Regions from separate parts of the Homo sapiens genome. Here all the other regions are linked to region 3. The links are contacts of gene promoters, found by promoter capture Hi-C in blood cells and fetal thymus (Javierre and others, 2016). All regions are on one chromosome and are shown on one strand. Each heading gives the region's core, a stretch centred on a gene start or on the middle of the fragment in contact. The rest is flanking DNA. Distances are from core to core; before and after follow the strand shown.

Region 1 (5,464 bases), core at 628-3,127, 200 kb before region 3:
CCTGGGCTGCATTTTTATTTTAAAGAGGAAAGAAATGGGTTGAGTAATGACAGTGATCTCAATTGGTTTTTGATCTTGAAGTCCTTTTAAGAAATTTGTATATCTAGTATAGATAGCTGAAATATTAAATGGAATGCTAGTTATAATGAATTCAGCCAAGGGGAAAAATATTTTATAATACTCTCTTCTTTTAAAAAAAAAAAAATACATAGGCTGGGCATGGTGGCTCACACCTGTAATCCCAGCGCTTTGGGAGTCTGAGGCAGGCAGATCACAAGGTCAGGAGTTTGAGACCAGCCTGGCCAACATGGTGAAATCCTGTCTCTACTAAAAATACAAAAATTAGCCGGGAATGGTGGCACAGCCTGTAGTCCCAACTGCTAGGGAGGCTGAGGCAGGAGAATCACTTGAACTGGGGAAGTAGAGGTTGCAGTGAGCCGAGATTGCGCCACTGTACTCCAGCCTGGGTGACAGAGCAAGACTCCATCTCAAAAAAAATAAATAAATAAATAAATAAATTCCAGGAATAAACCAAGTTTTATCTTCCACTAAATTGCAATTAAATTTATTTTAATGCCCTAATTAGCAAATTATTTTGATTCTAGATCTAATAGAAGAATTTGTAATACAATTATTCAAAAGAACGTTTTTCATTACCTGGGATTGGGAGGGTATCCGGATGGGTATGGAGAGATTCCACCTGGCATGCCTGGCATGTAGGAAGCTAAAAACAATTTTTTTCACATTGTAAAAATAATATACAAGGCCTGAATATGTAGGCTACTGAATAAGATATACATCACACTGTCAATACACAGCAAAATTTCACAGTTAAAAAATCCAAATCTCAGCACCAAAACAAAACAAATACCTCTCCCTTTCATAATCCTGAAATCATTAAACATGAATTACAATACTTATGACAATCCCTACCAAAAGAACTGGCAAACAGGTCAACCTGGTCAGCTTTTAAAGTTCTCAAGAAGTCTATTACCTAAGAGCAAGTTCAATTTCAAATTTAGAGGAAGGTAATTCTGGCCTTCTTCGGTCCAAGGTTAACTTCTTAGAAAGTAACTTCTTTATTATATCTAATAAATCTTTTGATATTTCTTTTATAACTATGTTGGCCAATTAGCACAGCTGATTTTGTTGGTTTAAAGACTTCAAGAGACTTCAAACTACTATGAGAAGTCCTATACAAAACTTACATTATCCAGACTGTTAAAAACTAGTCTAGGTGACAGAGTGAGACCCTATCTCAAAACAAAGAAACAAACAAAACAAAAGCTTAGAAATACTAGGGATAAAAGGTTAAAACCCAGCAAGCTTAAAGAATACTTTATACATTCTTTAAAGAGAACGTGAATGCCAAAGAACTAAGATCAGTGGTGCCAAGAGGCTAATCAACATAGAGGAAGAAAAAGAGAAGTTAATCTTGAGCTTAACTGACAAAAAAAAATAGTAAAGAATCTGCTCTAGAGTGTTTAACATGACTTACAGTGACTGAGTACAAAATTGAATTGCAACAGTAACAATAGTATGGTCTCTTTCTTGAATACTGCACTTCCAATGTCAATTTAAAACTCAAAGAAATTTAGGAAAAAAAAAATGTTGCAGGCCGGCCGCGGTGGCTCACGCCTGTAATCCCAGCACTTTGGGAGGCCGAGGCAGATCACTTGAGGTCAGGAGTTCGAGACCAGCCTGGCCAACATGGTGAAACCCCGACTCTACTAAAAATACAAAAATTAGCTGGGCATGGTGGTGGGGGCCTGTAATCCCAGCGACTTGGGAGGCTGAGGCTCGAGAATCACTTGAACCTGGGAGGCAGAGGTTGCAGTCAGCCCAGATCATACCACTGCACTCCGGCCTGGGCAACAGAGCGAGACTCTGTCTCAAAAAAAAAAAAAAGTTGCTTAGGAGACTACCTGAATTTCTGAAAAGGTTACCTTTGTCATAGCGGTCACTCGCTATATTATCTGAGCAAATAAACAAAGGTAATGAGACTAGGAAATATTTGATATCTTTTTTTTTTTTTTTTTTGATACAGAGTCTTGCTCTGTCACCCAGGCTGGAGTGCAGTAATGCGATCTCAGCTCACTGCAACATCTGCCTCAGCCTCCCGAGTAGCTGGGACTACAGGCATGCACCACCACACCTGGCTAATTTTGTATTTTTAGTAGAGATGGGGTTTCATCATGTTGGCCAAGCTGGTCTTGAACTTCTGACATCAGGTGATCCACCCCCACCTCGGCCTCCCAAAGTGCTGGGGTTACAGCTACCACACCCGGCCAAATATTTCGTATTTCAAACTTAAGCAAGATACTCTACTCTTGGGCACTAGAGTCAACAGAATTTAATAAGATAAAAACAAATTTCTAATCCAAAGGAATTACCAGTACCTTTACTAAAAGAAATAGTAATCCTAAAATCAAGCTTATTCTGGGAAGGTAGGGAAGGAAAGAGAAATGGGTTCAAAAATTCTTTCTGTTAAATTCCCATTCAGCTTATAAACCAAGATGTTCCTCAGGAAAGAATGGATTAAAAAGGAAAAAGTATAATTTTCAGCAGAAGAAAAATGAAAGCACATATAATTTGTCTTGTAAGATAAACAAGTTTGGTTAATTATAATCTTAAAGAAAATTTACCAAAAAAAAAAAAGTCACAGCTCAAAACACAGTGAAATCAATGCAGATTTAGTAAATTCAAAATAAGTACAACCAACTCACAATTATTCAGAGTGATTTTTAAGTATCAGTAAGAATTATTCAAGAAAATAGAGATAACAGAGATAATATATTCCAATTAGGGGAGAAGCAACACTCTCTCCATGCTCCCACCACTCCACACAAGGTAAAATCATGAATTGGCTGTACGAAAGAGAAGAAAGCTAAGAGCTAGATGTCCAATTGTGTATACCCAGAATAGCTGAATGTGAACGCTTCAGTTGACCTTAATCCTTATCTACAACACTGATTTTGTAGTTGCAAAGAGAAAGGAGAGGTCAGACTACCTTTCAAGTTATATGTGCTTCCAAGCTGATCAAATAAGGCTATTCTGCAGCATGCATAATTTTAAAAATTCTAGCTCTATTCTACACTTTCTCCTCCATTTTGGAATCCAGCACAACCATTCTTAGATTTCTACCTACAAATGGAAGCCCAAATGCCAGTCTTTGGTGGGAATCTGTACATGCAGATGTGGGGCCTCAGAATACTTCCAAAAAATCCACTAGCTTGATAAACTAAAAAGCAAAGAAGTCATTATTTTTCTTTATTTTTTTACAAAGGTTTCTGTTCTCTTTTGTTTATATGAGTTTTAAAGTAAAATCTCAATTCTACTTACTATTTGGTGGCCCCGTTGCCTGGTATGGCGGATAGGATGCCGAAATAGGACGAGAGAAGACTGGAGGTTCATCTCCAAATACCACAATCATGACCTGAATAAGCCCCAACAAGTCTGACTGTGGCTACAAAATGAAAAAAAATTCAAGTCAGCTACAGAGTTGCTTTTCAGTAAAAAGAAAAAGGTTAGCCATTTCTCATCGGTTTTCAACTCAGCTTGATAATTTTCTTTGTAGGACCCCAATCATGAAAATTTCATTTAATTAATTTATTTTAATAGAGTTAAGTGGTTTTAAACATGATGTGCAGCAAGGTTCTTGCTTCAAGTATATAAAAATAGCACTAGTTAAAGCAGCATATTGCAAAATTCATAGAGTTTTGTTCTTCATTTGACTCCACAGAACTAACAAAAATTTATTTTATTGCCACTGTACAATGTATTATAAGTATACTGGTACAAATTTAGGGATGAATATGAGCAACAGTCACAATATTATTAAAGGCCATTAAAAGACATCAATGATATCTTGGAAATACGTGTTCTTAAAATTAATTTTTATTAAAGATATTATGAACTCTGAAATTACAGGTAGATTCTAGCCAAGTGAGGTGGTTCACACCTGTAATCCCAGCACTTTGGGAGGCCAAGGTGGGTGGACTGCTTGAAGCCAGGAGTTTGAGACCAGCTGGGCCAACATGGCAAAATCCCATCTCTACTAAAAACACAAAAATTAGCCGGGTGTGGTGATGTGCGTCTATGGTCCCAGTTACTCAGGAGGCTGAGGCAAGAGAATTGCTTAAACCCCAGAGGCAGAGGTTGCAGTGAGCTGAGATCACACCACTGCACTCCATCCTAGGCGACAGAGCAAGACTCTGTCTCAAAACAAACAAACAAAAAAATTATACGTAGATTCTAGCTTAGAAATTGCTAGATTGTAGTACAAAGGGGTGAATTGTTAAAGGATCTTTCCTTCCAACAATGACAAAGAGATTCCTATTTTTTCATAAGTTACTAAGATTTTCTCTCAAATACCTATTGAGCACTGGCCAGGGGTGGTGGCTTACACCTGTAATCCCAGCACTTTGGGAGGCCAAGGCAGGAGGATCAAATAAGGCTATTTTGCAGCATGCATAATTTTAAAAATTCTAGGTCTATTCCAGTACTTTCCCCTCCATTTTGTAATCCAGCTTGAGCTCAGGAGTTTGAGACCAGCCTGGTCTCTACAAAAAAATTAACTGTACATGGTGGCATGCGCCTGTGGTCACAACTACTCAGGAGGCTGCAGCGGGAGGATCACCTGAGCCAGGAAGGTTGAGGCTGCAGTATGACTGCGCCACTGCACTCCAGCCTGGGTTAGAGTGAGACCCTGTTTCAAAAAAACAAAAACAAAACCCAACAACAACGACAACAAAAAACAACAAAAGAAATATCTACCAACCACTAATTAAGCTGTGCTAGACAAAGTTGTTCAAAATGGCTTATTTGATTATTCTTCTTTTACTCCTTAATCTATTTTGTGTATATCTCATCTCACGTACTTCATTCATAAGTTCACTGAGTTCTGAAGAATTACTCAATCACCTTGATAGGCTAACCATCTTCATAGAAACTACTTTTTACACCCCTCCTCCCCCCAGACAAGGTCTTGCCATGTTGCCCAGCTCAGACTTGAACTCAACAATCTTCCTGCTTCAGTCTCCCAAGTAGTCAGGATTACAGGATTAGGATTGGCACTTCTTTTAATACTCCTGACAGAAGAGTTCAGTGGCAGTTTTCACCTTTTCCAAAGAACCAAACTCACCTCATTTGTTCAATTTTGACCTAACTCATGGAAGATGACAATTAATAACATTTCTCAAAGCTTTCTGTGAAAACTTGCTGATATCTACTTTTCCAATATTTTTCTTGTGTTTGCCTGTAAATTTATATACTGAGACTCGGGGTGTTATAAGCACAGTATCTGTGCAACACTCACAGATACTGTGGCTGGTGTGTGTGGGGATGGCCACTGAGACCACATGCTTTCTCAATTTTTCGGCCCAACAAAATTCCTTAACTAAATCATAGCCTCATGTAAGCCTCATGCATGTAGGTGAAATATAATTCACATCCCATAAACTTT
Region 2 (5,857 bases), core at 1,779-4,278, 150 kb before region 3:
AGTTATACTAAGGGATGATCAAATCAAGTATGTCAAAAGACCCAGTAAATAATATTTCATGCTTTAATATACTACTGTTCTCGGATTATGAGGCCAATGTTATGATGAATGAAATATGAACTCATTTTAAAACACTGCTGATTATTTAAAATACTGAAAGACCAGGTAACTCTGTATCAAATAATGATGGGTAAATACCGTGCAGACCTACTGAAATATTCTAGCTACTCTATCAGTCTGAATATACTGAAGACACTACACATATTTTCATTTATCTGGTATATCATTAAGCCATTCTTACGGTACTAAAAATTATTGAATATACTCTTTTCAAATTATTTAATATGACCCAAAATTTTAGAAATGTGTGTTCTCTCATACTAATGATAATGACCCTTAATCTAGAAAACTGTGCTAAAATTATAGCTATTAAAAATCTTCCTGAAGGCTAGGTGCAGTGGCTCACGCCTATAATCCCAGCATTTTGGGAGGCCAAGGCAGGTGGATCACTTGAGGCCACGAGTTTTGAGACCAGCCTGAGACAACATGGTGAAACCCCGTCTCTACTAAAAATACAAAAATTAGCCAGGTGTGATGGTGTGCACCTGTAATCCCAGCTACTCAGGAGGCCGAGGCAGGAGAATCACTTGAACCCAGGAGGCGGAGGTGGCAGTGAGCCGAGATGGCACCACTGCACTCTAGCCTGAGCAACCGAGCGAGACTGTCTCAAAAAATGAAAATAAAAATTAAAATTAAAAAATTAGGCTGGTCACGGTGGCTCACGCATGTAATCACAGCACTTTGGGAGGCTGAGGTGGGCGGATCACCTGAGGTTGGGAGTTCAAGACCAGCCTGACCAACATGGTGAAACCCTGTCTCTACTAAAAATACAAAATTAGCCAGGTGTGGTGGCACACAATTGTAATCCCAGCTATTCGGGAGGCTGGGGCAAGAGAATCGCTTGAACCCAGGAGGTGAAGTTTGCAGAGAGCCAAGATTGCACCACCGCACTCCAGCCTGAATGAGTGAGACTTGGTCTCAAAAAGAAAAAAAATTAGGCTGGGCGTGGTGGCTCACCCCTGTAATCCCAGCACTTTGGGAGGCCAAGGCGGGTGGATCACGAGGTCAGCAGATCGAGACCATCCTGGCTAACATGGTGAAACCCCGTCTCTACTAAAAATACAAAAAGTTAGCCAGGCATGGTGGCATGCGCCTATAGTCCCAGCTACTTGGGAGGCTGAGGCAGAAGAATCACTTGAACCCAGGAGACAGAGGTTGCAGTGAGTCGAGATAGCGCCATTGCACTCCAGCCTGGGTGACAGAGTGAGGTTCCGTCTCAAAAAAAAAAAAAAAAAAAAAATTAGCCGGGCATGGTGGCGTGCTCCCGTAATCCCAGTTACTTGGGAAGCTGAGGCAGGAGAATAGCCTGAACCCAGGAAGCGGAGGTTGCAGTGGGCCACGATTGTGCCACTGCACTCCAGCCTGTGCATCAGAGCAAGACTCTGTCTCAAAAAAAAAAAAAGAAAAGAAAAAAGAAAATACAGTCACTCATATGATGGAATATTATGTAGAACGTTTTCAAAGAAATAGAGTTACTTAGAGCTATATGTACTGTTAATAAACATCTTCAAAAGTGTAGAATTAATTCCTTAATAAGTTAAAGATCAAATTACCATATAATCCAGCAATTTCACTTTTGGATATACATCCAAAAGAACCAAAAAGAGGTATTAAAAAAACTGGTACATGAATGTTCATAGTAGCACTAGTTACAATAGTGAAAAAGTGCAACCCGATGTCCATTAACTGATAAATGGATAAATAAAATGTGCTATATCCATACCAAGAAACATTAGCCACAAAAATGAATGATGCACTGACACGTGCCACAACATGGATGTACCTTGAAAACATTATGCGAAGTGACACAAAAGTCACATACTATATGATTCCATTTATATAAATTAGCTAGTAGAGGAAAATCCACAGAACAGACAGATTAGTAGTTGCCAGAACCTGGGAGAAGGGAAAATGGGGAGTAACTGCTCAATGTGTACAGAGCTTCCTTTTGGGGTGGTGAAAATGCTGGAAATTAGTGGTGATAGTTGCACAACATTGTGAATGAGTACCTAAAGTCACCAATGGTAAATTTTATGTTATGTGTATTTGGGCACAATAAAAAGATAAAAGGATTTAAATATATATACTATTATATGCAAAAAACAAGTGCAAAATCAATTCCCTCGGTCTGACTCCTAAAGCAACTACTCTTAATAGTTTCTTTTTTTTTGAGACGGAGTTTCGCTCTTGTTGCCCCCAGGATGGAGTGCAATGGCACGATCTCGGCTCAATGCAACCTCTTCCTCCAAGGTTCAAGCAATTCTCCTGCCTCAGCCTCCTGAGTAGCTGGGATTATAGGCATGCACCACCACATCTGGCTAATTTTTGTATTTTTAGTACAGATGGGGTTTCTCCATGTTGGTCAGGCTGGTCTCAAACTCCCGACCTCAGGTGATCCTCCCGCCTCGGCCTCCCAAAGTGCTGGGATTACAGGCGTGAGCCACTGTGCCTGGCCATTTTTTTTTTTTTTTTTTTTGAGACAGAGTTTTTACTCTTGTTGCCCAGGCTGGAGTACAATGGCACAATCTCAGCTCACTGCAACCTCCGCCTACCAGGTTCAAGCGATCTTCCTGCCTCAGTCTCCTGAGTAGCTGGGATTACAAGAACCCGCCAGCATGCCTGGCTAATTTTTTGTAGTTTTAGTAGAGATGGGTTTCCACCATGTTGACCAGGCTGGTCCTCAACCCCTGACCTCAGGTGATCCACCCGCCTCGGCCTCTCACAGTGCTGGGATTACAGGCATGGGACACCGTGCCCAACATCTTAACAGTTTCTTAGTATTTCTCCAGATTGTCGGTATATACACAAGCATAAGTGTGTATGTATGTATCTGTATGTAAATTTTCATGCTCATATGTATATATGTATATCCCTCCCCAAAATGTTATAGTAGCTATTAAAAAAGACATCAAATGATCAGTCAGCTGCAGTCATCTATGTGTGTTACAATGGGGCATTACTAAAATTTCCAAATGAGCTTTAATTCCCCGAATTATTGATGTACTTCGCCATATCTCAGAATATATTCATGAGAAGTCAGTTAACATTACATTTAAAATTACTTCATCTAAGGATGGTTGCAGTGGCTCATGCCTGTAATCCCAGCATTTTGGGAGGCCAAGGAGAGAGAACGGCTTGAATCCAGGAGTTCAAGACCAACCTTGGCAACATAGTGGGACCCTGTCTCTACAAAAAATGAAAAAATTAGGGCCAGGTGCGGTGGCTCACGCCTGTAATCCCAGCACTTTGGGAGGCTGAGGAGGGTGGATCACGAGGTCAGGAGATCAAGACCATCCTAGCTAACATGGTGAAACCCCATCTCTACTAAAAATACAAAAAATTAGCTGGGCATGGTGGTGGGCACCTGTAGTCCCAGCTACTCGGGAGGCTGAGGCGGGAGAATGGTGTGAACCCGGGAGGTGGAGCTTGCAGTGAGCCGAGATCGTGCCACTGCATTCCAGCCTGGGTGAAAGTGCGAGACTGTCTTAAAAAAAAAAAAAAATTAGTCAGATGTGGTGACGCATGCCTGTGGTCCCAGCTACTTGGGAGGCTGAGATAGGAGAATCACTTGAGCCTGGTAGATCCAGGCTTCGGTGAGCCATGATTCTGCCACTGCCCTCCATCCTGGGCAACAGAGTGAGACACTGTCTAAAAAAAATAAACAAATGAATAAATAAAATTACTTCATCTAATAGTAATTAAATAAATGCTATCAGAAATATACAACCAAGCTGGGTATGGTGACGTGCACCTGTAGTCCCAGATACTTATGAGGCTGAGGCAGGAGGACTGCTTGAGGCTAGGAGTTTAAGACCACCCAGGGCAACATAGCAAGACCCTGTCTCTGCAAAAATGAAAATAAATTAGCCAGGAATGGTGGCACATGCCTGTAGTCCAAGCTACTTAGGAGGCTGAGGTGGGAGGATCGCTTGAACCCAGGAGTTTGAGGTTACAATAAGCTATGATGGCACCGCTGCACTCCAGCTTGGACCACAGAGCAAGACCTTGTCTCTAGAAAAAAAAAATGTACAACCACAATTAATAAGGGGAACATGAATGAAAGTTACCCCAAGATGATATACACTCATTCAACATTCAACAGATAATTACTGACTCCCTACTTGGTGGCAAGCACCATGCACTACACATCTATTCCAAGGATTCTAGTCTTTCAATTATCTGAAGCAATACCTATTGATGGTTGATGAGACACACAGGAAGAAACAATTTCTTCAGTCCTACGTGGCCTCACAACCTCTAGAGTCCATATACTGAAGAGTCTCCTAAAGTGATTTTGAAGAGTTAAGAGGTCCTTTAAGAACTTCAGTACCTGAAAATCACAGGCACAAGAGAATATCCAGTTCCCCAAAGAACTTCTACATGAGACCTACAAAAAAGATCCTTAAAGCAACTATGGTACTCTTTCCAGAGAAGGAAAATGAACTCATTGTATCCTACAGGCAGCCGAAGGCTTACTAAAACTTTTACACCTAACTTTTACAACTGATAGGTATAATTTCAACTTTTCTGACTACCATTCCTTAGTTTATTGAGGCTTGTAATACTGTATGTCTTTATATATTATTTGGAAAATATTGTCAAGGAATAAAGGGGACCTAAGGAAAGGCAAAGGAAAGCCAAACAACTATAGCATGTTATAATCCGACCTTACCCATAACTTGGTAGAAAGGCTTTAGGAAATGTTTATTCTAGTTCAGTGGCCTTTTTTCTTTTTTTTGGATCATGCATCCTTGGTAAAATACTTTCAACTCCACATCCCCAAATACGGTATTTACCTACATAAATATGTCTATACTAATATGTTACGTACATTATAAAATACATGCAAATTTTTTAATTAAAAAATGAGATAGGGCAGGGTGCGGTGGCTCATGACTGTAATCCTAGTACTTTGGGAGGCTGAGGCGGGCAGATCACTTGAGTCCAGGAGTTCAAGACCAGCCTGGGCAATAAGGCAAATCCTGTCTCTACTAAAAATACAAAAATTAGCCAGGTGTGGTGGTGCATGCCTATAGCCCCAGCTACTTGGGAGGCAGAGGTGAAAGGATAGCTTGAGCTGGGGAAGTGGAGGTTCCAGTGAGCTGAATCATGCCACTGCACTCACGCCTGGGTGACAGAGTGAAACCCCGACTCAAAAAAAAAAAAAAAAAGAGAGAGAGATAGAAAATTTAACATTTCAAACGTTTTGTTTTTGTTTTTGTTTTTGTTTTTTTGAGACAGAGTCTCACTCTGTCGCCCAGGCTGGAGTGCAGTGGCGCATCTCGGCTCACTGCAAACTCCGCATCCCGGGTTCACACCACTCTCCTGCCTCAGCCTCCCGAGTAGCTGGGACTACAGGTGCCCGCCACCATGCCCGGCTAATTTTTTTGTATTTTTAGTAGAGATGGGGTTTCACCATGTTTGCCAGGATGGTCTCGATTTCCCGACCTCGTGATCTGCCTGCGTCGGCTTCCCAAAGTGCTGGGATTACAGGCGTGAGCCACCGCGCCTGGCCCACTCAAATGTTATTGACACAGAAAATCTTTTTATTATTAAAATTTATTTTAACAATATATTTTTAGTGCAATGAATGTAAACTGAATTTTTTTTCTTTTTTTCTTTTTTTTTTTTTCAGAGACAGGGTCTCGATATGTTGCTCAGGCTGGAGTGTGGTGGCTATTCACAGTCACAATCCTAGTGCATTGCAGCCTTGAACACCTGGGCTCAAGTAATCCTT
Region 3 (5,487 bases), core at 2,479-4,978:
CATGCCAAAGGAAGGGGCCAGCTTCTCTGTGTGTGTGTGTAGCCTGTCTCCTAGTCTGCCTATGTCTTTCTCTGCTATATGTTTCTGTCCTGCTGTCTGTCAAAAGTCTCACAGAGAGAGGGCCTCAGGGAGCTGCTGAGGGGTGCTGAGCCTGGCTCAGGGAGCTGGGACCCCTCCCCTCCAACACACATACTCACAGTGCTTTCCTCCTTGTCCCTCCTACACTAGGAGCAAGAGGAGGGGGCTCCAATGACACTCCGGGGTTTTAAGACCCAAGGCACATTCAATGCAAGGGGAGCAAGGATGGGACAACTCCATCTTCTGCTGCCCATGTGAAAAATAATAAAAATCAAGAGCCATTGGCTGCCCTGCTTGTGGGCCTGTGTGGCACATGCCTATCTTGGAGAGGGCATGGGGGCATGGTGCCAGAGGCTCTGGCTGTCCTCACAGCCTAGTCACAGTCCTGGGCAGTGCATCTTGGTGCCAGGCTGGCTACCTGGCTCTGGTGACACTGTGCCGGTTGGAGTGTGTCTCACTTCCCTGGTGTGGGTGAGGATGTGGTTTAGGAGGATGGGGGATGAGTGGTATTTGCCACTGTCCAAATTTGTCCTTGATGTACTCCCCTGTGCACAGGTGCCCAGCACCCTTGGTGACCTTTAGTTACCCAGTGTCATCTATTGCTGCCCACCTCCTCCCCTCCCCACTTGAGACCTGCTGCTTCCTTCAAAATGATCCAGATTCCCTTCAAGCATCTCCCTCATCCTGGACTCTGGGCTTAGTTGAACAGCTGGGAGCAATGGGATTAGATTGGCTGATTCATTCATTAGTTGTAAAGCCCTGGCAGAATAATACATCACTCTGCTCCAGGAGCATTTGTAACTTAACAGACAATGCCCTAACCCAGAAGTAGAAAGGGAAGCCTTGGGTGGTGGTGGATATGCCATCAGTAGAGGTGTTGCTCATTTGTGGGGATGTGATTTAGGAGACTCAAGTCTCAGGGGTGGTTGGATGAGTCAGTGATTTCCAAATTAGTTTTTACAGAGATTCCTGGTAAGGGGGTAGTGAAGGAATAATGAGAGAAGGCAGGCTCAAAGACCTCCTATCCTTATTTCAAGTCCAGTAGCTTCTTAGGTTGTGTTTTTTTTTGTTTTGTTTTGTTTTGGAAGGATTCCACTGAAAAACGTAAGTTTGAAACTTAGTGAGCTGGATGATCAATCCCTTCTAGCTCTGAACCCTGGACACTAAAGAGGGAAGATCTTGATCCTTTCAAACTTCAGAACTCTGAACACAGACCTACCTAGTGTGAAGAAATGGGAGGGAGCAGGATGGAGAGCAGGATGAAGTCAGCAGGACTTGCCCCCAAGCTCTGAGGGGAGGGGGAAAGTGCCATGTAGATGTGGAGGAGGGGAAGGGAAGACCAGGCCCAGTCACAAGAAGGCTGGTCACTGCCTTGTGGGTGGGTTTGGACTAGGCTTTCAGGGGTCCAGGTCTGGGATTCCCTATCATGCAATCACATCCATCCCCTTGGTCCCTGCTGTATATCACCCTCAGGAACGGGAAAGGATGAGTTACGTTTATTGCCCCATCCCTTCACTGAATGTTTACATTAACAAACACCAGAGAGCAAACTGGGCTTCCTACACTGGGCCATGCAGAGGACAGGCCAAGAAACTCCACATCATAACAGCCTCCTGATGCCTGGGCTTGGCTGGAGCTCACATGAGGTGCTTTGATTTCTTCTGCAGACTCTCGGTGATGGATGCTACAACTGACTTATCATCTTTGTCTGAAAGAGCAAAGGAAGTATTCGTTATATTAATGATGCTGGCGACCAGGGAAATTCCAAACTGCTGGACTTCCTATGCAGGAAACCAGGAGCTGGACCCTGGGACCCTTAATCTTGGGTTGGCAGAGTGTGAAGGGGCAAGAGCTGCCATTTATCTAGCACTTAATATTTGCCAGACATTGTGCCAGGCAGTTGTGTACTGTCTCATTTAAGCCTCATAGTCCTATAAAGAAGATGAGAAAACAGGCTCAATGAGGTAGCTTACTAAGGTCACATGGCTGGTCAGTGGCAGAGCCAGGGCCCTGGGCCCATTTGCTGTGCTTACAAGCAGATTTGAGTTATCAGGGATCTCTTTAGCTGTGGAATGAAAGCTGGATAGCACCCACAGTGCCTTCCCTGGCCTAGTTCTTTTACACAGCTCAGCAGCCTCTCTGGAGATATTGTCTCAGTGCCAGACACTTAGCTAAGCACTCGAGAGACAGAGCAACAGGACAAGGTCCTTTCCCCAAAGAAAGGTATCTATAACTGGATAAAAAAGGTCTGTAACCATGGAGACCACAGCAATGGAGTGTCATGGAAGGTTCAGGAGTAGCAGAAGGTGAGATGAGAGGTGGGGGAGGGGGAAACCTTCTTGGTTTGGGATTTTACCATGAGAGGAAAGCTGGGGGAAATTTAAGCAACAGAAAGCAAGGCAGGCCAGCTTTGCATTTAGAGTTCATGCTGCTAGCTGTGTGGCTATGAAGACAGTAGACTGGGAAGGAATAAAATGCTTCCCCCTATGTGTGCACACATGAGTAGAAACATGGCATGCATGTACAAAAGGGAGGGTTCCCTTCGCTCCTTCCCTTGTTTGTGCCCCCCACCGGTCCTTATCCTAGACCAGTTTTAATTTTTATTGCACATCAGAATCACCCGCAAAATTTTGTAAACATATAGGTTATTTCCAGAACCGTGCCAGAGAGATCGTGATTGGTGAGTCTGGTTGAGTCCTGATCACCAGTATCTTTTTTCTGAAGGCAGGTCTAGGCTCACCAAGAGTTGCAAACCACATCTTATCTAGGGATTGAGAACTCTCATGTCTGCAGGGGCCAGGCATATAACAAATGACATCGAAAGGATGGGAGAGTGGTAAGAACTGTGGCCAATTAAGAATGTTTGCACCACCTGTTGGCAGTCAGATTAAAAAACGGTGCCAGCCAAATAGTTGACCAATGGCCCACAAGACCAGCCTTTTGCGCCTCTCCCCCTCCTCGAGGCCGGACCCCGCGGCGCCCTCACCATAGACGGTGAGCGTGCAGCTGCTGCGGTCCTTGCCCAGCTCGTTCTCCACCAGCACGCTGTAATCGCCGCTGTCCTTGAGCGTGCAGGTGGGGATGACGAGGGTGCACACGCCGCTGGTGGAGTTGTACCAGAACTTGGAGTTGGCCGTGATGTTGACGTCGCCCTTGTAGAGGGTCACTGTGGGCCGCGGGTTCCCAAGGAAGGCGCAGGTCATGGTGCAGTCCTGGCCGCGGAGCACCGTGTGTGGCTTGAGGGGCGTCACGAAGCGCGGCGCGTGGCGCCAGTCCTTCTTCTCGTAGGGCTTGAGCTTGGCGCTCAGGTCCTGGACTGCGCGGGCGGGGCGGGGCAGGCCGTGAGGGCGCCCCAAGGCCCCCACCCACCACCCACGTCTTACAGTTCAGCTTACACGGAACCCCGAGGACCTAGGCCACATTCCCAGCGCCACCAACTCTGGGGGCCCAATGTTACACTGGTTCTTAAGGGCTCCCCACCCGCCCCCAGGCCTCCCCCGACCCCCCAGCCCCGTCCCCAGCCACTCCAGGGTTCTGCCACCCAAACCACGCTTTCCCACACCCCTGGGGCCGAGATGTCATTCCAGCGCCAGCTTCCTGGACCCGGTTATTCCCAGCCTTTAACTCCGCCTCCAAGCTTCCCCTACGTCATATCAGCGACCACAGTCTCCCCTCTTATCCCTTTAGCTCCTCAGTTCGAGTTTCCCGACGCGGCCCCCACCCTTAACCCCTAGCCTCCAGGGATCCCAGACATCCTCCCGGCTCCCTAGAGCCCTCCCCTGTTCTCAGCCCCGTTAGACCCTCCCCTCAGAGCAGAACGCGTTTGCGCTCTATGTCCCTCCGCAGCCCCTCCACCGTCCTCTCTGCCCCCAAAGGTACCTCCCCACCTCCACTTTAGTCTCACCCCTAAGTACCCCGAAGAAAGCCAATATTTCCTTCTCTCCGCAGCGTCCCAGATATTAACCGTTCTATCTCAATGGTTTTCAGATTTTATCTTGCCTCTTGGGTACCCTTTGGGACCCTTATGTCATCCCCACCATCAGGGCACCCAGACTTAACCCTAACTGCAAGTCCCAGACTCACTCTGGTCCTTATTGATGAGCCAGGTGTCCCTGGAGTCAAGTGGCTCACTGTCACCGATTTCATTCCGAGCCACCACTCTGAAGTAGTACTTCCTGCCTGGGAGCAGCCCCGTCACTGTGTACTTGTTGCTGAAGACACGCTCGGCTGCCGTGTACCAGGTGGCTGTGCTTGCATCCCGCTTCATGATGATGTAGTGAGCCTCACCGTCCTCCTGCACATCTGGGCTGTGGTTCCAGGTCAGAGTCACTGTGTTGGGGACTTCCTCAAACAACCGTAGGTTTGTGGGGGGCCGAGGGAAATCTGGAAGAGTTGGAAGATCTGTCAGCGACCTTGGGGCACCTGAAGTATTATGTCCCCACCCCAGCCATCTGCCAAGTCCGATGGAAGATAAGATGGGGCAAGTCTCAGGCAGCTGGTGTCTTGGAGTCGGAAAACTATTTCTGAAGTCTGCTCTGCCATTTACTAGCCTCGTGACCTGGGGTAAGTTACTTATCTGAGACTTCTTTCCTCAATTGCAAAATAGAGCTGACAATGACTATTTCGTAGAAATAGTGGGTAAAGAGACTGGCATGTAGTTACTGTTCAGTAAAAATGAATCCATTCCTTCCTTGGGGGTTTAGAGCTTTATTTTAAAGCTTCCAGCTCTCTTTAAGCAGTCACCCCAATTTTTAATGGATTCATCTCCATTTGTCCCTCCTGCCCCTCCACCCATTTCTACTCTCTCTGCCGACCATACTCTGTATGATAAAGTCTTGCTCTGTGGTGTCAAAGAAATCTTCATGGCCCTAAGGCATGACTTTCCTGTGGTAGGAACTCAAGCGGCACTGGGGAGCTGTGCTTTGGAGAGTGTACAGGGATGGGTCTTGGAGGCCTCTGCCTTCTCTCCATACCTGCCACGCGCACATGGATGTCATAGCGTGCTTCTCCAAACTCATTCTGAAGCAAGATTCGGTACACCCCTGAGTCAGAGCGCTTGGTGCTATTAATGAGGAACTGGGAGTGGTTTTTGCTCTTGGTAATTGTCTCTCGGCCCTTGGTGGGAACGCCATCTTTCTGCCAGATCACGTCAGGTGGTGGTGAGCCCTGAGTAGTGACAGGAGATGGCACAACTGGTCACACAGATGATATTTGGGGGCAGGCCTTCCTCCATTGTCGAGGAGTTTCCTGCCAGGCTGTCGCACTAGGGGTCTGGTGAGGGGCAGAGTCAGAGTCAGAGTCAGAGACTGTGATGGCTACAATAGCCATCTTGGTTATGTGGACAGTGTATGGAGGTCAGGGTCAGGGACAACTCACAGAGAAGGCTGCATGGATGCAGAGGGCTGTCCC
Region 4 (5,863 bases), core at 1,060-3,559, 220 kb before region 3:
TTTAAAGTGACGGCATCAAAGATGTTTTTGGTACTTCTCAGTACTTGCCTTGTATGTATACGTAATTGCCATCTGGTCCACAAGAATGTGTTTACTGTGTTACACAAATCCTGATTCTTTTCATCAGGTGCATAGTAATTCTTCTCTATGGCTTAATACCTATGTTCATTTACATGCTATCTCTACAATGTAAAAATAAAAGTGTATATATATACACACACACACAGAGAGTAATCTAAATGTTCCTAACACTAGATAAAACATTGATTTGACCTTGCTGTTTTTTATTCTTTGAGTGCATTTTAATTTTTACAGAAAAGGCCTTAAGCTGTAAACCGCTTGGTGACAACAGATTAAATTGGTCATTCTTCTCTTGGGAGTAGAGTGGGCTGCCTAATTATCTTAATAACATCCCAAATTGGAATATACTTTTCTTTGTAGCCTTGTAGCCTCATGAGCTTTCTAGCACTCTCATTTTGATCAAGAACATTCTATTCTGGATGAGCTCTGCAGGACATACAGCAGCTATATAGTTCATTGGGTGGTCACAAACTTGGCTACAGAATCACTCACCATGAAGACGAAACTTTAAATGACAATAAAAGCAGGGAGGCAATGGTACACTATCTTTCCCTTTAATCCTAAAGTTATCAGGTATATAGTTTGGACCTGCCACTCTGCTCCTTTTTGATGAAAACACTTATGGTTCAGTGAGGCCTAGAAAGGAAACAAATTTAGTAGGGTTGGTAGGAGAGCATCTCCTTGGACCTTTCACAGATAAGTTACTCAAATGCTTCAATTTCAAATATTTCAAAATTTAGATTTCTATTTGGTATATCCCCATGTTAATTCACTTTATATGCTGTAGAATAATACTAAATTTCAACTTAAGATGGATTTTATGCCTTTTTTGCTAAATGAGAAGTTGGGCTTACTAAGGTTTCATGGATCTTTCCTAAAGTCCAATAAAGGAGAGAAAAATTATGCAACAAATTTTATTTAGCAGTCCCAACATTCAGCACAAAAAGTTTACAGAGGATAGAAAGTGCATTAATAAAAGCCAGTCTTTACCAAAAGAAAACAGAAAATATATTATTGATTCAAAATATTTTACACTTGAATGATAAACTGCAATAACTTATTCTGGGCACCTACTGATAAAAGGAAGAGAAGAATACTTTAAGAAGAGCTCAACCTCCAGCTGGTATCAGAGAAGTCAGTAGAGGTCACTGAGACCGGCAGTCTTTCTTGCTTTTTGCATTAGTGCCCTCAGCTGGAACTGTTTACGGGACAGAAGACGTACATGCTGGGAGGGGAGAAAAGTTTGAATAGTTTAGAATGGCTTTGATTTAGGCCCAGGCATAAAATAGACAATTTGTAACCTAGATGGGATCTAAGAACCCTAACTCATGACCTGCCAACCTTTGGAATGAATACCTCATTATATGTGGCTTTTAAGCTGCATATTATAAAGGCTTACTCAACAGGGAAAGCATTACATTGCAGGATCTGGCTCAGGAGTTTGACCTACACTTTCTTTTCCTAAGCCATGCCACTCAAGCAAGAGATTGTACAGAAAAAGAGTCCTCTCTTGGGTCTCTGGTTTATATCCAGCCATTCATGTGGTTGTACCACTTCTGAGGCACATGGTTTGGCCATTCCCCCACAGTGAGAGGAGATAGGCAAGATCAGCACATGACCTGACCAGGCTCCAGCTACAGCTGGATCAGATATCCCAAGGGTGGCTGCTATTATCCCTAAAACCATGTTCTCCATGACCCAAGAGACAGCAGTAGCCAAACTTCGCTTACTAGATTTTCCTCTGTACAACAGCATTAAGCTTGAGACAACTTTCATACAAGAGGGCTTGAAAGGGCAGCCTGATACTTTGATGTGGGAAAACTGGTCTAAAGTTATATAACTCTAAGAAAATTAACAGATAAAAAATGGAGGTGGCACAATCAGTGATCTCAATTTAGGTGGTATGACCTCAAAGAACCAATGGAAATCTGATCGTACCTCCTGATCCACCCAGGCACAGAAGAGTTACACTCATCTTAATGCTGCCTGTGGGCAGAGAACTGCAGCCACCAGCCCACTTCTCTTCCCCTGCTCAGACCAATCCTCAGTACTCTGTAGGTAAAAAGATGGTGCAAAACCCTACATCTCATTTAGTGTTTTTTGGGAAGATAAAGAATCTTAATCCATACTACAAAGAAACTCTCTTGGTTTGTGGTTTGCAAGGTCAGTGCCTCTACAACCCAAGTTAAAAAATCTTGGAACGTAAAATGAAGAAATACCTTCAGGAAGACATCCAGGTCTATCACGCCCCTTCTCAAGGCTTCTCCCAAGTAAAAGATAGTGTCTTCAATAGCGTTTTCTTCTGCATACAGATTCAGGATCTGTTTGTATAAGGGAGCTGTGGGAATGATAACTTCATCGATATCATTGTTTTCAGACTGATTTTCCATTTTTTCCAGAGCAGAACTGAGTTCTTCATCCTTCTTTTTCAAAAGTTCTATGTTTTTATCAACCTCGGCCTGAAAACAGAACAGTCCAAGCATTAATAACTGTACATAATTATCCACTTGTCAGACACCTACAACACTTCACAGGAAAAGACAGGCTAACAACCATGTTTAAACAACTCATGGATGAGAATAATGTTTCAAATAACACCCTGGTCAAAGGTAGAGGAAAAGATGTGATCTACTATGCTGAGTGAAATAGAGTAATGATGGAGATATCCTGAGGTGACAGCACTTTCAGTGACAGTAACAAGCTTGTCACCTGTCAGCGACAAATGATACTGCAAACTAAGCCATCAGACAAGATACTTTCCAGCAGAAGGTTCCTTTACATAGAAAATCATAAGAGGTTTTTCTTCCCAACAAATGGGCACCTGCCATAGGAGAGTAACTTTCCTCAGTCTATGAAGAGGATTCAATGCATAGAGGCCCAAATGTCTGCATTCTAATCACAAAGTATCACACGCAGGTGCTGGTTGTAGGCTCTGAGTTGTATTGGTGTCACTTTCCTGAATTCTAAAAATTGGCTACTTCGAGGCTCATTTTACAATCTAGAACCACTTTGTAAGGCTAATGGGTACATACAAATCACTTTCCACAAAGCCCTCAACCTTCTAAGAATTCTTTACTATTCCATCAAAAACACACATTTACTGGAATAAATTCTCCCTCATGGGGATGAAAATGGAGCGTGAAATTGGCACTTCAATTATGCTGATGCTTCCACTTTATCATCATTAAGCAAAGCCATAGGGCTGACTTACACACGGACTGTCCAAGGCATAGCTGTCTGTTATGAGAAAGCTTAAAGAGCTGAAGGTTGCATATGCTATGTTTATATGTAGCTCTTTAGCCAACCAAGTATCTCTGGATTATTGAGAAAGTTCCCTGAACATACTTTTAAAAAATGGCTCACACAACCTTTGGAAACAATAAAATAGTACTGTCCTTTTAAGTCTGCTCCTAAGATGTGCAGATCTTTATCATGGCTTAGAACTCTCTAAACTTATTTCCTAGTAACTGGCAACATCAAGCACTCAAACAGTCCTCCTTTGGGTTAAAACATCCTTTGCCTAAAACATTTCCTAGGGCAAAGGTGTGATAAGGTTTGGCTGTGTCCCCACCCAAATCTCAACTTGAATTGTATCTCACAGAAAGGGACCTGTGTGCGTGTGTGTGTGTGTGTAGCAGGGGGTGGGGAGGGATGGCACGCAGGGGTGGTAATTGAATCATGGGAGCCGGTCTTTCTATTCTCGTGATAGTAAGTCTCACAAGATCTGATGGGTTTATCAGGGGTTCCAGCTTTTGCTTCCTCCTCATTTCCTCTTGCCACCACCATGTAAGAAGTGCCTTTTGGCTGGGCACAGTGGCTCACTCCTGTAATCCCAACACTTTGGGAGGCCAAGGTGGGTGGATCACCTGAGATCAGGAGTTCGGGACGAGCCTGGCCAACATGGTGATACCCCGTCTCTACTAAAAAATACAAAAATTAGCCAAGCATGGTGGCAGGCACCTGTAATCCCAGCTACTCAGGAGGCTGAGTCAGGAGAATCGCTTGAACCTGGAGGGTGGAGGTTGCAGTGAGCCAAGATTGCACCACTTCACTCCAGCCTGAGCGCAAGAGTGAAACTCTCAAAAAAAAAAAAAAAAAAAAGGAGTGCCTTTTGCCTCCCACCATGATTCTGAGGTCTCCCCAGCCATGTGGAACTGTAAGTCCAATTAAACCTCTTTTTCTCTCAAGTCTCGGATATGTCTTTATCAGCAGTGTGAAAACGAACTAATACAAGGTGCAAACAAAATGGTCTAAATATTATACCCCTCCCAATCTAAGACCAAATGCCAAACATAGGCTCCACTGTAAACAAAGGTATAAAAAATTACATTCAAATGTTTAAAGATGCCTATAATTTTCTGAACTCCTACTATGCCCACAACATCCAGGGAACATATAGAACACTCTGCCATGGCTACAATTCAATCCAAAAATTTTAAGTCTTTAATGAGTCACTTACTACTTCTTGATCTAAACGGGTAACCATCTCTTCCAGTTTCTGGTGACCCTTTTTCAGGTCTTCTTCTGTTCGTTTCAAGGCATTGAGCTCTGCCTGGGCACGATCCATTTCCTCCTTCATCCGCCATCTCAGTTTGTCACTGACCGCAGAGATGAGAGAGGCTCGGATGGTGTCCTCGCTGATTGTGCCATCCCTACTGGGACCTGCAGGAAACAGAGGCAAAAAACACTTGCTTACTTCCCAAGTTCCTTCTATTTGTCTCACAGGAACCTTCAGAAAAGGGGGCAATATGAACCGACACTTTCAAAATGTGAGGAAAGAAAAAAATTATGTTACCAGTTTCATGAGAAATAATGTAAAAATCTGAGTTGATTCAGAAATACTTGCCCTACAAGAGATTACTATTAATCCATGTTAAACCCAGTTTCCCTATTCATAGCCCAAACAATTAGCTACAATTAGTTATTTTCTCAATGAGACAGAGGCTATGTCCCTACCAATTACAATTATTCCTAAATAACCAACAAATGGCACAATAATTTCCACTAAGGAAAAACATTTGGTGCAGGCCAAGTCCAACATCAGGCTTCGCTGCTAAGCTGAAGGAGACAAGTGCCCACTGTAGAGGCCAGTGAGAGGACTGAGAATGGGCAGTTTCCCTAAACGAATGTACAGGTTAATAAGGCTTCCCTCTGTAAGACTTTTACTACTTCACCCTTTACCAACAGGACAGAACAGATGAACAAAAAAGAATGACATCCAAAAAATTCAACAGCTGATAAACTGTTTATTCCCAGATTCTTTACTATTCTCTTCCAAATGTCCCTTCCTAATCAGTATATTATATCATTTCCATGCATATTTCAGATCAAATAAACATCCTCTGGATATTTTCTTCAAAAAGGTCCCCTTTCTAATATAAGTTTGGGTATTCTTTATGACTATCAGTGTTCTTCAGTTATTGTCCCAAATCAGCAAATGTGTAAATGGCATTTTGACTTTTAATTATGTTTGATTATAAAATACTACGTGAGGACGTTAAGTATATTTAACCTTAATTGCCGCCTTTTTTTTTTTTTTTTTTTTTGAGATGGAGTCTCACTCTGTCACCCAGGCTGGAGTGCAGTCGCATGATCTCGGCTCACTGCAACCTCTGCCTCCTGAGTTCAAGCGATTCTCCTGCCTCAGCCTCCCGAGTAGCTGGGAAGCAAACTTCCTGAAGGGCCTTGTGAATTACCTGGGTCTTCTAATTACCTGTTAGATGATCCTGCTTTTTACCAAAACCATCAACAAACTCTGTCAACAAACTCTAAGCCATTCTAA
Region 5 (5,416 bases), core at 537-3,036, 250 kb before region 3:
CCCAAAGTGCTAGGGTTACAGCCGTGAGCCACCGCGCCCGGCCAACTCCTTAATATTTAATTTCATGATGGGGGTGCAAAACAATTAGGGGGAACATATCTACAAAGACTCTTGAGGGAGTGATAATGAAAAAAGATTGAGAAACACTGCTCTACATTTTATAAAAATTTGTCAATATGTATTACTGTATTAGGGTTCTCTAGAGGGACAGAACGAATAGGATAGCTATATATATAAAGGGGAGTTTATTGAGGAGTATTGACTCACACAATCACAAGGTGAGGTCCCACAACAATAGGCCGTCTGCAAGCTGAGAAGCAAGAAAGTCAGTCGGAGTTCCAAAGCTGAAGAACTAGGAGTCCAATGTTTGAGGGCAGGAAGCATCCAGCACAGGAGAAAGATGAAGGCTGGAAGACTTAGCCAGTCTAGTCCCTCCACGTTCCTCTGCCTGCTTTTATCCTAGACGTGCTGGCAGCTGACTAGATGGTGCTCACCCGGATAGAGGGTGGGTTTGCGTCTTCTAGCCTACTGACTCAAATGTTAATTTCCTGTGGCAACACCCTCACAGACACACCCAGGTTCAACACTTTGCATCCTTCAATCCAATCAAGTTGACACTCAGTATTAACCATCAAAATTACGTATTATGATTCACAAATGAGAAAACAATTAGGTAAAATGTGGTGGGAGAAGTAGAAACCTTGGTTTATTCCAGACTGATTTTCAATTCTACATTTTTGTTTTTTATTTTTGAGACGGAGTCTCACTCTGTCACCCAGGCTGGAGGGCAGTGGCATGATCTCGGCTCACCAAAACCTCCGCCTCCCGGGTTCAAACGATTCTCCTGCCCCAGCCTCCTGAGTAGCTGGGATTACAGGTGCGTGCCACCACACCCGGCTAATTTTTGTATTTTTAGTAGAGACGGGGTTTCGCCATGTTGGCCAGGCTGGTCTCGAACTCCTGACCTCAGCTAATCCACCCGCCTCGGCCTCCCAAAGTGTGGATTCTACATTTAACCACTTAATAATGAATTGAGCTTTCCCTTCATCTTGTAAAAATGGTTATCAATTGGCACTGCATTCATCAAATTCTTCAGGTTTCATATCTTATTTCCAAATTCCTTTTGCATACAGAGTTTTGTTGTTGTTTTGAGACAGGGTCTCACTCCGTCACCCAGGCTGGAGTGCAGTGGCACAATTTCGGCTTACTGCAACCTCCGCCTCCCAGGTTCACAAACAATTCTTGTGCTTCAGCCTCCCAGGTAGCTGGGATTACAGGGGTGCACCACCACGTCCAGCTAATTTTTGTATTTTTAGTAGAAACGTGGTTTCACGATGTTGGCCAGGCTGATTTCGAACCCCTGACCTCAGGTGATCCGCCCGCCTTGGCCTTCCAGAGTGCTGGGATTACAGGCGTGAGCCACCACGCTCGGCCCAGAGTTTTAAAATTTTACTTTTTCTACTTTAGCTCACATTTGAGGTGGTAAAAGTTAATCTTGAGGTCCCTTTCTCCTACAGGGCTGGGGGAAAATTTTCACGTGAGAGTCAAACAGTCCTTTTCAGATACATCCAGACAAGGTTTGGTTAGAAATAAAATTACTTGGGCTCTCTGGTGGATGGGTTCTAGGCAAACAACTCCGCCCAACAGCAGAGGCCCTGCACTGCGTTGTGCCTGCAGCACCTCGTGCGCCTTCTGCAGCCGGCCAACCACCTACACCGCAGCCCGCCCACCCGCACGCGGGGGCGGGGCGGGCAGGCAGAGGCGCAGGCGCGGTGCTTCGCAGCCCGCTTCCGGCCTCACACCTGCCAAGCATCACACCTGCCAAGCATCACACCTGCCAAGCATCACACCTGCCAAGCATCACACCTGCGATGCCTGCACGAGCTGGGTGCGGTCCGCGCAGCTGCAGTAAGGGGGCGACCCGGCGTCTGTTAGTCGGCGGTTCATCTCCTTCGTGCCTCGATGAGCTTTAACGCCATTTTCCTCCATTCTCTTTCTTCACCTCTTGAGTGAGTGGCCATGAGCTGGGCTGCAAGAGTCCTGGGGAGCAGCCAGAGAGCGGGCGCCGCGGGAGCGAATTGTTTTTGCCCAAGGATGGTTCTGTGTCTCCGCCAGGCGGCATGTGACCTGCTCGGGCGCGGGTGGCCCTTCACCCCTGTGAGTGTGGCCAGAAGTACCTCTCACCTGGACCTGCGGACCCCGGGCGCAGTCCTGGAGCTGAGAACTGGAGGTTGGGGGAACAGCAGGGTAAAGGGGAGAGAAAAGGGGGTCAGCTGCGGGACGGAGTGCCGTCCCAGCTGTAGTTTCATGTTTGGTGGAGCAACCCCTGTTCCTTTCCTCTCTCTCTCTCTTAATTCCTCTTAACTGTACTCACGCTTCCTTCTCCTTCCCCTGGTCCGCTTCATGGATGCTGAGCTGCCTGGCCAGAACCTACCCAGCTTCTTTGCTGGTCAGATTTGTCGGTCTTTTGTGTGTCTGCAGCACCTCCTTCCACACGGGCCCAGGAGTTCTCTATACGCGCTCTCACCGCAGGTCTTGGAATTCCAAGCCATTTCCAATTCCAGGTCTTGGAAATGGCTGTGCAATTTGTCTTCACTGTTAGGTTTCCAAGATGGCAACTATCAAGAGTGAACTTATTAAGAATTTCGCGGAAGAGGAGGCCATTCATCACAATAAGATCTCCATTGTAGGAACTGGATCGGTTGGTGTGGCTTGTGCTATCAGCATCTTATTAAAAGTAAGTTGTGTGCTCTGCACCACAGGGTTCACCTCAGTTGGAGGCGAGGCCACAGCGTATGGTTGTGGAGGTTGTGTCCAGTTCAAGGTGGTGAGTGGGGAGCCAGTGTGAGGGGCATCAGAGGAAAAGGTGCCCTTTTTTTAGTTGTTCACCCAGAGGGCGCTCCTTTTTAAAAATTGTATGATGATATCATGTGGGTTAGAAGCATCTCTGTGAAAGTATGTTGACATTTCACTTTCACGTAATGACAATATGAGGTACCCCTTTGCTTGATTTGGAAACTCAGCTCACAAAACAAACTGGAGAGAAATAGGTGGCAGAAAAGAGTATACAAGCGTGTCAGTGATGGTAGGCAGCCTACGAGTACCAAATACAATAATCTTTTTTCATTTAAATATCTCTCTCCCATTTCCTAGTCTGTATATCTTTATTTCCCTTCGTTCCTTATTCATGTTAGGTTAGTTTTAGTGTTTAGCTGTTCTTAGTATTGATACAGCTGATAAAGTTTTATGGCTATAGACAGAGGCCAAAAAAAGATTCTGACCCCTTTCTAAGAATATTACCCTGATATGAACTTTATTACCATAAAGTTTTAATAAATCATAAGACACTCTGAGCTATACTTTTATTAATGAAATATCTGTAAAATGTTTTAGCCATCTTTTATATAACCTTTAATCCTGGCATGAGTCATTGGATTTAAAGGATTGCCTCTGGGTTTCATATCTAGATGACATAGTGACCTTATGGCACTAAGGACAGCAGCCACAGCCAACTGCTGCTCCTGCCAGCCATACAAATTCCCCATGATTCATTTTGTCCTACCTATTGTAATGCCTTTATCAGCAGTGTCCTCACTGCTAATGAAGAATACACACACGTGAAAACCAACACATCTGTGACTCATTGATTGTTTGATGGGGCCTCCACGTATTGCCCAGGCTGCTCTCAAACTCCTGGCCTCAAGCAGGAGGTCTCGGCTTCCTAAAGTGCTGAGATAACAGATGTGAGCCACCTTGCTTTGCCCAACACATTTTTTTTAACATCAGTAATAATGATAACAGTATGTTTGTATGCATTATCCAATATTACAACCCTGGAAAGTAAATATTAGACCTACTTTTTAGAGGAGAAAAAAGGAATAGACTATCTCTAATTGCATGAATAGATAAGTATACAGGTAATATATATAGAAAAGCTTGAAATAAAAGATTTATTTATCACCTCTGCTTTGAAGGGCCATTCAGGGAGGGACTGAGCCATATCCCTGGAACTCCTACCTCTGCCAGCTGCTGCTTGGCTTTGGTTGCAGGAGTGGAGGGAATTTTGGGGCTTCTGATGGGAGGTTCCAGGGCCCAGGATAGGGCAGTGCCATGGGGCTGCACTTGTTTCATGGCCCTATCCATGATGGGAGGTCCTAGATAGATCTCAGGTGGAGGTGGTGGATAGGAGTACAGAAGGGCAGGAGTGCATTCCATTGCAACTGGTGATGGGAGGCACAGGCCCCACCGGGCATGTAAGAGCATCTGTAGGCTCCACTGGTGGCTTACCTCTGGAGGCTTAAAATGCCACCTGTAGCACCCATTGTTCAAACTCAGTGGTGCTCCCTGCTGTAAAGGTATGAAGCAGAGCCTTCCCAGTCACCTCCTGCTTCTAGAACTTGAATTCTAGTATGTTGCTAACTATGGCATTTGTATATCTTAGGAAATAGGGTACACAATCCCCCTATAAAGCCTCAGGTTAAGGCTCACTTTAATCTTTCCCTGTCCTGGCCCTAGACACTGCAACTTCTGTCATTCAAGGAGGTGGTGATAGCCTAAAAACTCCTTGCTGATAAGGAATTCTCAATATGAATTGTTCAGGAATTTATTGTCAGGAATTTGTGGTATGAACCTTGTAGAGAAACAGTAATGTCTTTAAAAATTACTGAGTTTTACCATAATACATAAACTTTAATTAGTATAATGCGAGATCCACTTTTTCTTTTAGTGTTGTATCTGGAATCTAGAAGAGTGCCTCCTGTAATTGATATTTAGTAGTTGGATGAAAGAATTGCTAAAAGATGCCCATTAAAATGGAATGCACTGGATTGTGAATATAAAGATGGGATATTCTGTTTACTTTCATTTTTATAAATAAGGAAAGGGAGTCCAGAGAGATTGTTAGGATATATTTTTATAGACTTTATTTTTTAGAATAGTTTTAGATTTACAGAAAAATTGAAAGGATAACAGTTTATACCCCACATTACACCTTAGTATGGTGTGGTGGTTAATATTGTCAACTTGATTGGATTGAAGGATGCAGGGTATTGTTCCTGGGTGTGTCTGTGAGGGTGTTGCCAAAGGAGATTAACATTTGAGTCCGAGGACTGAGAGGCAAACCCACCCTCAATCTGGGTGAGCACCATCTAATCAGCTGCCAGCACGTCTAGGATAAAAGCAGGCAGAGGAACGTGGAAGGACTAGACTGGCTAAGTCTTCCAGCCTTCATCTTTCTTTCGTGCTGGATGCTTCCTGCCCTCAAACATCAGACTCCAAGTTCTTCAGCTTTTGAACTCTGAGACCTACACCAGTGGTTTGCCAGGGACTCTCGGGCCTTTGGCTACAGACTGAAGGCTGCACTGTTGGCTTCCCTACTTTTGAGGTTTTGGGACTTGGACTGGCTTCCTTGCTCCTC

The links. Contacts are between HindIII fragments. The CHiCAGO score rates a contact against its expected background, and 5 or more counts as called.
Region 1: a contact is called between a fragment that was not itself captured here and the fragment with the promoter of IGSF22-AS1 in region 3, in 2 of 17 cell types (activated CD4 T cells and naive CD4 T cells). The highest score is 9.3, in activated CD4 T cells.
Region 2: a fragment that was not itself captured here is called in contact with the fragment with the promoter of IGSF22-AS1 in region 3 in 3 of 17 cell types (activated CD4 T cells, naive CD4 T cells and total CD8 T cells); the score reaches 9.3 in activated CD4 T cells.
Region 4: a contact is called between a fragment that was not itself captured here and the fragment with the promoter of IGSF22-AS1 in region 3, in 1 of 17 cell types (activated CD4 T cells). The highest score is 5.6, in activated CD4 T cells.
Region 5: the fragment with the promoter of LDHAL6A here is called in contact with the fragment with the promoter of IGSF22-AS1 in region 3 in 11 of 17 cell types (erythroblasts, activated CD4 T cells, total CD4 T cells and 8 more); the score reaches 9.3 in erythroblasts.

The regions. Positions count from the first base shown.
Region 1 is chr11:18,506,200-18,511,663 of GRCh38, forward strand. TSG101 (tumor susceptibility 101) reads right to left here. Exons shown (of 10, transcript NM_006292.4): 5 at 3,343-3,466; 6 at 658-724. Among named protein-coding and RNA genes, the nearest start is that of TSG101, 18 kb to the right of the region's middle. The HindIII fragment of the contact is 1,107 bases long and covers 1,325-2,431 here.
Region 2 is chr11:18,551,817-18,557,673 of GRCh38, forward strand. The region is part of intron 7 of UEVLD (UEV and lactate/malate dehyrogenase domains); the gene reads right to left. Among named protein-coding and RNA genes, the nearest start is that of TSG101, 28 kb to the left of the region's middle. The HindIII fragment of the contact is 7,996 bases long and covers 1-5,857 here.
Region 3 is chr11:18,702,753-18,708,239 of GRCh38, forward strand. It overlaps IGSF22-AS1 (IGSF22 antisense RNA 1), which reads left to right and starts at 3,729. Exons shown (of 3, transcript NR_186353.1): 1 at 3,729-4,397; 2 at 4,526-4,641. IGSF22 (immunoglobulin superfamily member 22) reads right to left here. Exons shown (of 23, transcript NM_173588.4): 19 at 5,455-5,487; 20 at 5,052-5,244; 21 at 4,162-4,461; 22 at 3,065-3,394; 23 at 1,560-1,786. The coding sequence ends at 1,716. TMEM86A (transmembrane protein 86A) reads left to right here. Exons shown (of 3, transcript NM_153347.3): 3 at 1-2,033. The HindIII fragment of the contact is 1,081 bases long and covers 3,714-4,794 here.
Region 4 is chr11:18,479,330-18,485,192 of GRCh38, forward strand. TSG101 (tumor susceptibility 101) reads right to left here. Exons shown (of 10, transcript NM_006292.4): 8 at 4,541-4,743; 9 at 2,301-2,540; 10 at 982-1,306. The coding sequence ends at 1,217. LDHAL6A (lactate dehydrogenase A like 6A) reads left to right here. Exons shown (of 7, transcript NM_144972.5): 7 at 1-272. Among named protein-coding and RNA genes, the nearest start is that of LDHAL6A, 26 kb to the left of the region's middle. The HindIII fragment of the contact is 942 bases long and covers 1,839-2,780 here.
Region 5 is chr11:18,454,070-18,459,485 of GRCh38, forward strand. It overlaps LDHAL6A (lactate dehydrogenase A like 6A), which reads left to right and starts at 1,787. Exons shown (of 7, transcript NM_144972.5): 1 at 1,787-2,737. The coding sequence starts at 2,612. The HindIII fragment of the contact is 8,824 bases long and covers 1-3,933 here.